Regions from separate parts of the Homo sapiens genome. Here region 2 is linked to region 1. Evidence: promoter capture Hi-C in 16 types of primary human blood cells and fetal thymus (Javierre and others, 2016). All regions are on one chromosome and are shown on one strand. Each heading gives the region's core, a stretch centred on a gene start or on the middle of the fragment in contact. The rest is flanking DNA. Distances are from core to core; before and after follow the strand shown.

Region 1 (5,155 bases), core at 261-2,760:
CCTGACACCCAGGCTGGTGTGCAGTGGCACGACCTTGGCTCACTGCCACTTTTGCCTCCTGGGTTCAAGCGATTCTCCTACCTCAGTCTCCTTTGTAGCTGGGATTACAGGCGTGCGCCACCATGCCCAGCTAATTTTGGTATTTTTAGTAGAGATGAGGTTTCACCATGTTGGCCAGGTTGGTCTCGAAATCCAGACCTCAATCCATCCGCCCGCCTCAGCTTCCCAAAGTGCTGGGATTACAGGCATGAGCCACTGCGCCCAGCCTCCCCTTACATTCTTAACCTTGGGGGTGACACAGATAGATCAGCTCCAGGGAGTTATCCAGGTAACTGGAAAGACACGCTAAGGTTCTTAATGTCTACATCTAAACTATCCCAGACTCAATATCTTGCAAAATCCATACTCTAGCCATCCATCGAACAGGATTGCTAAAGAAGAAATCAGATGTAATGTCTAAATAAATCAGCCCCTTGGCACCAGAGAAATAAATTATGGAGTTGGGTGGGGTATCCAAGCCCTCCGGGTCGCATACCACCAGCACACTAGGGGAGAAGTCTACTCACTATTCTCCACTGTAGGATCGTAGCCTTCCGAGAACTCGCCTTCCACAAATTGATGTGCCAAAGATGTCTTCCCTGTGGGGAGCAGTGTGACAGTTGTATCCAAATCATCCATCCACATTCACATCCTCTGTCCTTTCGGACTGTGGCCCAGGACCAAAGGAGACCCCAAATTAACACCACAGTCTGTGAGTGCCTCAAGCAATGCTATCCTTTGTGTCTACCCTCACCCTCTTTTCACCCAGGGTCTCCGCACTTTGGCTACCGGATGCATTCAGAAGCGCAGCAGGAAGCCTTTCCCGCCGCCTTCCCCACCCCATCCCACTCGTAGGAAGATCCAAGATTCCCTAGGATCAAGTCCGCCCCGCCCCAGGACACCTGCGACTATCTGTCCCCACGGAGACCGCGTCCCGGTTTTCAAATTGTGACCCCACCCCTATCCCCAAAGTAACGCTGGGACCACTCTGAGATTCCCGCAGCCAGGTCCGCATTAACCCTTAAGTGCTCCCGCTTCCTGCAGCCTCCACACACCACCAACTCTTCCAATCCTCCACTCTTCCATTCCTCCACTCTTCCAATCCTCGCTCTACAACCCCATCCTTACGATGTCATCATTCCTCCCTGGGTCGCGTTCCCACGGCAGCGCGCCTCTTCTGGCTACAAAGCTGCTGCGCGTCCGAGCTCTGCAGGGCGGAGACTCACCTACACAGCGGTATCCGAGGATGACCACCTTCCTGTAGCGGACTAGCGGCATGGCAGGAGCCCGCCCCAGGGGCTTGCGGAACTGCGGGCTCAGAGAGCCCGAAAACGAGGTCAGGGTGTGAGCAGGCGCGGCAGCTGGTGCAGGAAAGTCGCTCACCCCGAAGCTGCCGTGGGCAAGTTAGAAGGAAACCAAAACAAGCGCCGCGCCCGGAGCTGCCCACGTGATCACAACACAGCACGTCTAACGCCAGGGAGCCGGGCGCCCGGGGAACTACTGAGCCGCGCCGCGCCGGGCTCCGCCCCCCAGGCCGCTCGCCATTGGTCCATTAGAATGGGTAAGGGCGGTGCCGCCAGCAGGAGGGAAGGGTGGGCCTCACGTGGAGCGGGAGAACTGGGAGCTGCGCGTGCGCAGACTGGAGCCGGTTCATTCATAAAGAAACAGAAAGGAACCCGGGGTCCTAAAGGCGTTTGCGCATTTACAGCCTAGCTGAAGTGGCTTCGAAGAATTATGGATGGAAAATACCCGTTTTGTGGTTTCCGGTCATAAGATTCTAGCCCTCCCTTTTGCATGGTCTCTGGGGTCCTTAGATAGGGAGAAAACCGCCAAAGTTCTAGTATATTCCTTCTGCTTCCCCCAGCCTTCAGCCCCAGACCTATCAAGGTTTCCAGTCTTCCAGCATCTAATTTCAAACTGCAATTCTTATTCTTGCAGAAATTGCTAGAATTTATGATCAAGTAGTCTGAGGTTTCTTCTTCATCATCATGATCCTCAAATATTCATTTTTCAACAAATACTGAGTATATACTACATGTTTCAGGCATTGCTCCAGCTTTGGGGTCAGAACATGGACATCACAGACAATGTGTCTGCTCTTATGAAGGGAGAAACAAACATACAACAAGGAAATATCAGAGAGTGTTAAGTGCTGTAGAAGATGGTGTGATGAAAGATGACCACTTTATTTTTTTTATTTTTTTATTTTTATTTTTATTTTTTTTGAGACGGAATCTCGCTCTTTCTACCAGGCCGGAGGGCAGTGGCTCTATCTCGGCTCACTGCAAGCTCCGCCTCCCGGGTTCACGCCATTTTCCTGCCTCAGCCTCCAGAGTAGCTGGGACTACAGGCGCCCGCCACCGCGCCCGGCTAATTTTTTGTATTTTTAGTAGAGACGGGGTTTCACCGTGTTAGCCAGCATGGCCTCCATCTCCTGACCTCGTGATCCGCCCGCCTCGGCCTCCCAAAGTGATGGGATTACAGGCGTGAGCCACCGCGCCCGGCCGACCACTTTATTTTTTAAAGACAATACAGCATTTTTAATTTTTTTTCTTTATTTATTTTGAGACAGGGTTATGAGACTGGCTAATTTTTGTATTTTGGGGAGAGATGGGGTTTTGCTATGTTGCCCAGGCTGGTCTCGAACGCCTAGCCTCAAGTGATCCACCTGACCCGGCCTCCCAAAGTGCTGGGATTACAGACGTGAGCCACCGAGCCTGGCTGAGATGACCACTTTAGTGATACTTTCTCTCATAGGAAACCCCATTTAAACTAAGATCTGAAGGAACCAACTAGGAGATTTCACAAGAAGAATCCACCAATGCTAAGGCGTTAAGATGGAAATAAATTGGGTAAATTCCAGGAAGAGGGGAAGAAAAAAAGAAAGCCAGTTAGCCTAAAGCAGATGAAGTCTAAGAGAATGGCAGAGGCCAGGCCACATAAAGGAGTCTGGGCTAATTCTAAGTACTTGAAGGTATTTAAGCTGGGGCATGACATGATCTAAATTGTCTTTCTAAAAAATCTCCCTGGCTGTAGTGAATAGATTGGGGTTTGAGGGTAACAGGAGCAAAAGGAAGCAGGGAGATTGGCGAGGAAACTGTTACCTGTAGTCCAGGTGAGAGATGAGAGCGCTTGACTAGAGTGATCATGTTGAATGAAGTTGAGAATTCAGGATATTCTGAAGCTAAGGTTAAAATGACTTGTGGAAGGATTGGTAGAGGAGGGAAGAAAGGAAGGAAATCACCTAGATTTATAGAGAGTTCGACTATACTATGTGCCAGGTGCATTTTATTGTTATCTCATTTAATATTCACAAAAGCCCTAGGCCGGGCATGGTGGCTCATGCCTGTAATCCCAGCACTTTGGGAGGCTGAGGTGGACGGATCGCTTGAGGTCGGGAGTTCGAGACCAGCCTGTCCAACATAGTGAAACCCCGTCTCTACTAAAAATACAAAAATTAGCCGTGCGTGATGGTGCATGCCTGTAATTCCAGCTACTCAGGAGGCTGAGGCAGGAGAATCGTTTGAACACGGGAGGCAGAGGTTGCAGTGAGCCGGGATTGCACCATTGTACTCTGCACTCCAGCCTGGGAGACAGAGTGAGACTCCATCTTAAAAAAATATATATATATATATATATATATATTCATCTTCTACTTTGTGCCAGGCACTCTTACTATGTGTTGCACACTAGGATACAGAAATAAATAACAGATGCCTTTTATACTGCTTGTCCCGTCCATATGAACTCTCCATTCTTTTCCACCCAGATTTATGTCCAGGAGGCAGACCTTGTCTCCTGGCTTTCAGTGAAGCTCAGCCAAAGGAAAGCACACACAGAAGATTCAATGGACAGAGGAGAGTGGCTCTGTCCCCCATTGAAGGTCACAGTACCTCTCAAGGCAGCTGCCTCCTCCAACACACACACACACAGCTCTCTCCTGGTTTTCAGTGACTCCCCTCAGCCTTTATGCCTATAGCAGTATCAGCCTCTTTTCTGTTATTCACCTTGGGGCATTGCTCTATCTGTTGTGGTCTCCCTATACCCTGCCCACATCTTTGTAAATAGTCTCTTTATTAAACCATCTGAATTCTCCTGTTTTGAATCAGAGAGAAAGCAAAAGAGCCAAGGCAAAGGGCTTTCTCCTCTTGTGACTTTTTCTTTTTACCTGGTAAGGGAAGCTCTCACAGCAGATATTCACCTACATCTCATTGAACAAGATTGTTTTATATAGTCATTTCTAGTTGTAAGGGAACCTGGAAATTTTAGCATTTTCTTTTCCAATGTCTATAGTAAAGGAAGGCAAAAGACAATGTGATTATAAATAAATGTTTTGGCCTGACGTGGTGGCTCAGGCCTGTAATCCCAGGACTTTGGGAGGCCATACAGGTGAATTGCTTGAGCTCAGGAGTTCGAGACCAGCCTAGGTAGGCAACATGGCAAAAGCCTGTTGCTATAAAAAATACAGAAAAAAAAAAGAAGAAAAATTAGCCGGGCATGGTGGCACGTGCCTGTAGTCTCAAGCTACTTGGAAGGCTGAAGTGAAAGGATCACCTGAGCCCAAGGAGGTTGAGGCTGCAGTGAGCCATGTTTGTGCCACTGCACTCCATCCTGGACAACAAAGACCCTGTATCAAAAAAAAAAAAAAAAAAAAAAAAAAAAAAAGAAGCTAGGCACGGTGGCTCACGCCTGTAATCCTAGCACTTTGGGAGGCCAAGGCGGGTGGATTGCCTGAGCTGAGCTCAGGGTTTCGACACCAGCCTGAGCAACACAGCGAAACCCGGTATCTACTAAAATATAAAAAATTAGCTGGGGCCGGGCACAGTAGCTCACGCCTGTAATCCCAGCACTTTGGGAGGCTGAGGCAGACGGATCACCTGAGATCAGGAGTTTGAGACCAGCCTGGCTAACATGGTGAAACCCCGTCTCTACTAAAAATAGAAAAATTAGCCAGGCATGGTGGTGCATGCCTGTAGTCCCAGCTACTCAGGAGACGGAGGCAGGAGAATCGCCTGAACCTGGGAGGTGGAGGTTGCACTGAGCCGAGATCACGCCACTGCACTCCAACCTGGGCAACAGAGCGAGACTCCATCTCCAAAAAAACAAAAAAATAAAT
Region 2 (5,153 bases), core at 2,514-5,013, 290 kb after region 1:
CTGAGATCGTACCACTACACTCCAGCCTGAGTGACACAGTGACAGCCTGTCTCAAAAATATAAAAATAAATAAATAAATAAAGTGGAATTATGTTGATGACTATTCTCTCTATTCTCTCTCTCTCTCTTTTTTTTTTTTTGGAGATAGAGTCTTGCTCTGTCACCCAGGCTGGATCTTGGCTCACTGCAACCTCTGCCTCCTGGGTTCAAGCAATTCTCCTGCCTTAGCCTCTCGAGTAGCTGGGATTACAGGCACCTGCCACCACGCCCGGCTAATTTTTGTATTTTTAGCAGAGATGGGGTTTCACCATGTTGGCCAGGATGGTCTCGATCTCTTGACCTCATGATCTGCCTGCCTTGGCCTCCCAAAGTGCCGGAATTACAGGCATGAGCCACCACACCTGGCCACTGTTCTCAAATTGTATTATGGAGTTTTTTTTTTTTACAAAATATGGATATATTTTAATTTACTCAAATGGGAACTACTGATAAGCAGTTCTTATTTTTCCAGCATAAGCAAGGCTACAATAAATATCTTTGAATATATGTACTGATGCTTTTTGTTTTTTGTTGAAGCTATATCCCAATAAGTGATAAGTACGGTCTAAGAGAGAACATGTTTTTTACAATTTTGATTGATATCATATTGGGCCACGCATGGTGGCTCAGGCCTGGCATCCCAGCACTTTGGGAGGTTGAGGTGGGAGGATAGCTTGAGCTCAGGAGTTCAAGACCAGCTTGAGCAACCTAGTGAGACCTCATCTCTACTAAAAAAACAAAACAAACAAACACAAAATTAGCTAGGTGTGGTGGCATGTGCCAGTAGTCCCAGCTAGTTGGGAGGCTGAGGTGGAAAGATTGCTTGATCCTGGGAGGTTGAGGCTACAGTGAGCTGTGATGGTATCACTGCACTCTATCCTGGACAACACAGCAAGAACCTGCCTCAAACAAATGTATTTGGTTGATATTGTATCAGATTTCTTCTGAAAAACGTTTTAATGGTTTAGACTTTCACCAAGTGCAAGAAACTGGCATTTTCTTTGTAACTGGCCTGGAATGTTACCACTCTTTTAAACTTTTGTCAAGATGATCGTGAGAAATAGTATCTAATTACTTTAATTTGCATTTCCCTGACTCCTAATGAAGTTCAGCATCTCTTCAAATCTTTATTGGGCATTTGGATTTTCTCTTCAGTGAATTGCTTCATCATATTCTCCATTTATTCTAAAGTTGTGTTCCTATTTGTCGCTTTCAAATCTAGTTTGGTGGAATCCTTGCATGTTAGAAACCTTAACCCTCGTAATATGTGTTGTAGATATTTTTCCCTCGCCTATGAGTTGTCTTTCATCCTTGAGCATGAGTTTTAGAGTCAGAAGAACAACAGTAGGATTTGAATCATGTTACGTTATTTTCTAGTTGTCGTATTTTTTATTTCTTCAGCCTCTTAGAATCTTAGTTTCCTTTAAAATTGAGATAATAGTATCTACTTTATTCAAAAAAATTTTTTGGCTGGACGCGGTGGCTCACGCTTGTAATCCCACCATTTTGGGAGGCCAAGGCAGGCGGATCACCTGAGGTCAGGAGTTTGAGACCAGCTTGGCCAACATGGTGAAAACCCATCTCTACTAAAAATACAAAAATTAGCCAGGTACAGCGGGGCATGCCTGTAATCCCAAGTACTCAGGAGGCTGAGGCAGGAGAATCACTTGAACCCGGGAGGCAGAGATGAGGTAGTGAGCTGAGATCGCACCACTGCACTCCAGCCTGAGTGGTAGGGCGAGACTCTGTCTCAAAAAAAAAATTGTTTTTTCATTTATTTATTTATTGAGACAGGGTCTTGCTCTGTTGCCCAGGCTGGAGTTTAGTGGGGTGATCACAGCTCACTGTAGCCTGGAACTCCTGGGCCCAAGTGATCCTCCTGCCTCAACCTCCCAAGTAGCTGGGACTACAGACAGGCATCACCATACCTGGCTTTTTTTCTTTTTTTTTTTTTTTTTGGTAGAGATGGGGTCTTGCCATGTTGCCCAACCTGGTCTCTAACTTCTAGTTTCAACCCACCCTCCCGTTTGGCCTACGAAAGTGCGGGGATTACAGGTATGAGCCAAGTATCTACTTTAAAAGGGTTGCTGTGGCCAGGCGTGGTGACTCACACCTGTAATCTCAGCACTCTGGGAGGCTGAGGTTGGTGGATCACCTGAGGTCAGGAGTTTGAGACCAGCCTGGCCAATATGGTGAAACCCTTTCTCTACTAAAAATACAAAAAATTAGCCAGGCGTGGTGGCACATGCCTGTAATCCTAGCTACTCAGGAGGCTGAGGCAGGAGAATCACTTGAACCCAGGAGGTGGAGGTTGCAGTGAGCTGAGACTGCGCCATTGCACACCAGCCTGGGCGACAGAGTGAGACTCCACTTCAAAAAATAAAAAACACAAAAAATACAAAAATGAGCCGGGCATGGTGGCACACGCCTGTAGTCCCAACTACTCTGGAGGCTGAGTGGGGAGAATCGCTTGAACCCAGGGGGGCGGAGGTTACAGTGAGCCGAGATGGCGCCTCTGCACTCCAGCCTGGGCAACAGAGTGAGACTCCGTCTCAAAAAATAAAAAGAAAAAAAAAAGAAAAAAGAAAATGTGGCTGCCCAGAAGGTCAATCATGAGTGAGTTGTGATTGCGCCCCTGTACTCCAGCCTGGGCAACAGAGTGAGACACAGTCTGAAATAAATAAATAAATAAACAAAATAAAAACAAATAAGTAAATGAAATTAAAACAAAACCCAAAATACGGTCTTAAAAAAAGGACATTTAGTAAAATAATAGGAAATCTAAGACATTAACAAGTGAGTCTTCTTTATTTTCTACCTTAGTTGATTTAATGAAATCCAGTGATTTCATATTCTCCCATTTGCACAAAACAAAAATTCATAGATACTTTGAAGAGTTGGAAGGGAACTGAGAAGGCCTGTATCCCAAGCAACTATACAGTACAGAATCTTGGGAAAAGCTTGCCTTAGAGATGACCATTTCGGGTTTTGCTTGAATTGGAAATCTTCTACCTGTCTCACCTTTTAGACATCCTTAATTGTTCCCTAAATTGTTCCTAAATTTGCTTCCTTGTAATGTCTTTCTGGACCTGCCATCTCTTGCTACAAAGAACATAAAAAACCAAAAACCATTTCTTGATGAGATTCTGCCCTTCATCTCCTATCTCTCTAAGTCTTTCATTTGCCACATTTACCATCACTTTGTTTAAGGAGGAGGCACTGTAGTCCGAGTGAGGAGGGATGAAGAGGTGAAGAGATGGGTCTCTACTTCTACCTCTTGCATTGACCATACTGGTGACTTTGGGTGAGCCACCTTTCCATTAGGGCCTCTGTTTCTTTCTTGTCAGGTGAGGGAGATGGACTTAGATGACTTAGATGATTTTTTTTTTTTTGAGACGAAATCTACTTTGTTGCACAGGCTGGTGTGCAGTGGCACGGTCATAGCTCACTGCAGCCTTTACCTCCTGGGCTCAAGCAATCCTCTCACCTTGGCCTCCCAAAGTGTTGGGATTACAGGCATGAGCTACTGACCCCAGCCTAGATGACCTTTAAGCTTGCTTTCAACCTGCATTCTGGAGTTATTAGCTTTTCAGCTGAGGTTTTTATTAAATGGTTTTATTTGTCATCTTCTGTCTGCCCCCTTGTGGACATTGTTTTGGGAAGAAAATAAAATATTTAATTGCTCGAAGAACAATATAATGACCATCTCACCCTCCAAAAATTCACTTGCATCACACTGTTTGTTTTCAGTTATTCATGTTCACTTCTAGTCGTCGTTCATAAATGTACATCATTTTACATGGTTGAATCATATCAGGGACATAATTTTGTACTTTCCCCCCTCCCTGATAAAGATGATGTTTTTACAGTAAAATAAAAAAATGCTTGTGATTCAATAAGCTTTTAAAATATTACTATAAAGACTTTGTTATTATATATATTTAATTGAGATATAATTCATATAGCATAAACTTCACCCTTTAAAAGTGTACAATTCAGTGGTTTCTGATAGATTCACAAAGTTGTATAATTATCACCTCTATTTAATTCCAGAATGTTTTACCACCCCAAAAAGAAACTCCATACTCATCAGCAATCACTCTCTGTTTCCTCCTCTTCCTAGCCTCTGCAATCACTGATCTGCTTTCTGTCTCTAGATTTGCCTATCCTGGACATTTTATTTAAATGGCATCACACAATATGTTGTCCTTTGTGTGTGTCTGGCTTCTTTCATTGAACATAATGTTTCCAAGATTCAAATATGGGCTGGGTGTGGTGGCTCACGCCTGTAATCCCAGCACTTTGGGTGGCTGAGGTGGGCGGATCACGAGGTCAGGAGTTTGAGAGCAGCCTGACCAACATGGTGAAACCCTGTCTCTACTAAAAATACAAAAATTAGCTGGGTGTGGTGGCATGCATCTGTAGTCCCAGCTACTCAGGAGGCTGAGGCAGGAGTATCGTCTGAACCTGGGAGGCGGAGGAGGTTGCAGTGAGCTGAGATTGTGCCACCGCACTCCAGCCTGGGTGACAGAACGAGACTCTCAAAAAAAAAAAAAAGAAAAGAAAAGAAAAAATGATTCAAATATGTTGAAGCATGCATTATCATTACATTTTATTTTTTAATAACACACCATTATATCTTAAAGCTGTATAATATTCCCTTTTTGATAAACATTTATATAATGTTGTTGTAAATAATGTGGCATCGATATCTTCATGGCTCTAATTCATCTCTTCTCTTGAATTATTTCCTTAGAATAAATTCCCATGGGTGGGATTACTGGGTCAAAGGGTATGAACATTTTTTATAGCTCTTGTCAATATTGCTCTTAAATTGTGGTGCCCAGAACTAAATGCAATTCTGAGACGTGTTCAGACAGAACGGGGTACTGTGGGGCTGTTACGTTCTCAAGGTCTGAACAATATATCATCCTTTAAATCCAGCAGCCTAAAAATTTACTAGCTTTTTTTGGTTGCTATGTAAGTGTGACTCATTGAGTTTATAGTCAACTGAGGCCCTTAGATCTTTTCCTAGGCACTGTGTCTTAGAGCTATGTTTGCATCTACTCTAGGACCCAGGAGGCTTTTGAGGACTCACTGACTTTAGTACTCTA

Evidence for each region. Contacts are between HindIII fragments. The CHiCAGO score rates a contact against its expected background, and 5 or more counts as called.
Region 2: a contact is called between a fragment that was not itself captured here and the fragment with the promoter of RHEBL1 in region 1, in 1 of 17 cell types (M2 macrophages). The highest score is 5.3, in M2 macrophages.

What each region holds. Positions count from the first base shown.
Region 1 is chr12:49,068,469-49,073,623 of GRCh38, forward strand. RHEBL1 (RHEB like 1) reads right to left here and starts at 1,511. Exons shown (of 8, transcript NM_144593.3): 1 at 1,266-1,511; 2 at 567-638. The coding sequence starts at 1,317. RefSeq lists enhancers at 1,225-1,534, 1,905-1,954 and a silencer at 1,555-1,674. The HindIII fragment of the contact is 17,864 bases long and covers 1-5,155 here.
Region 2 is chr12:49,353,594-49,358,746 of GRCh38, forward strand. DNAJC22 (DnaJ heat shock protein family (Hsp40) member C22) reads left to right here. Exons shown (of 4, transcript NM_001304944.2): 4 at 1-97. Among named protein-coding and RNA genes, the nearest start is that of DNAJC22, 9.3 kb to the left of the region's middle. The HindIII fragment of the contact is 347 bases long and covers 3,591-3,937 here.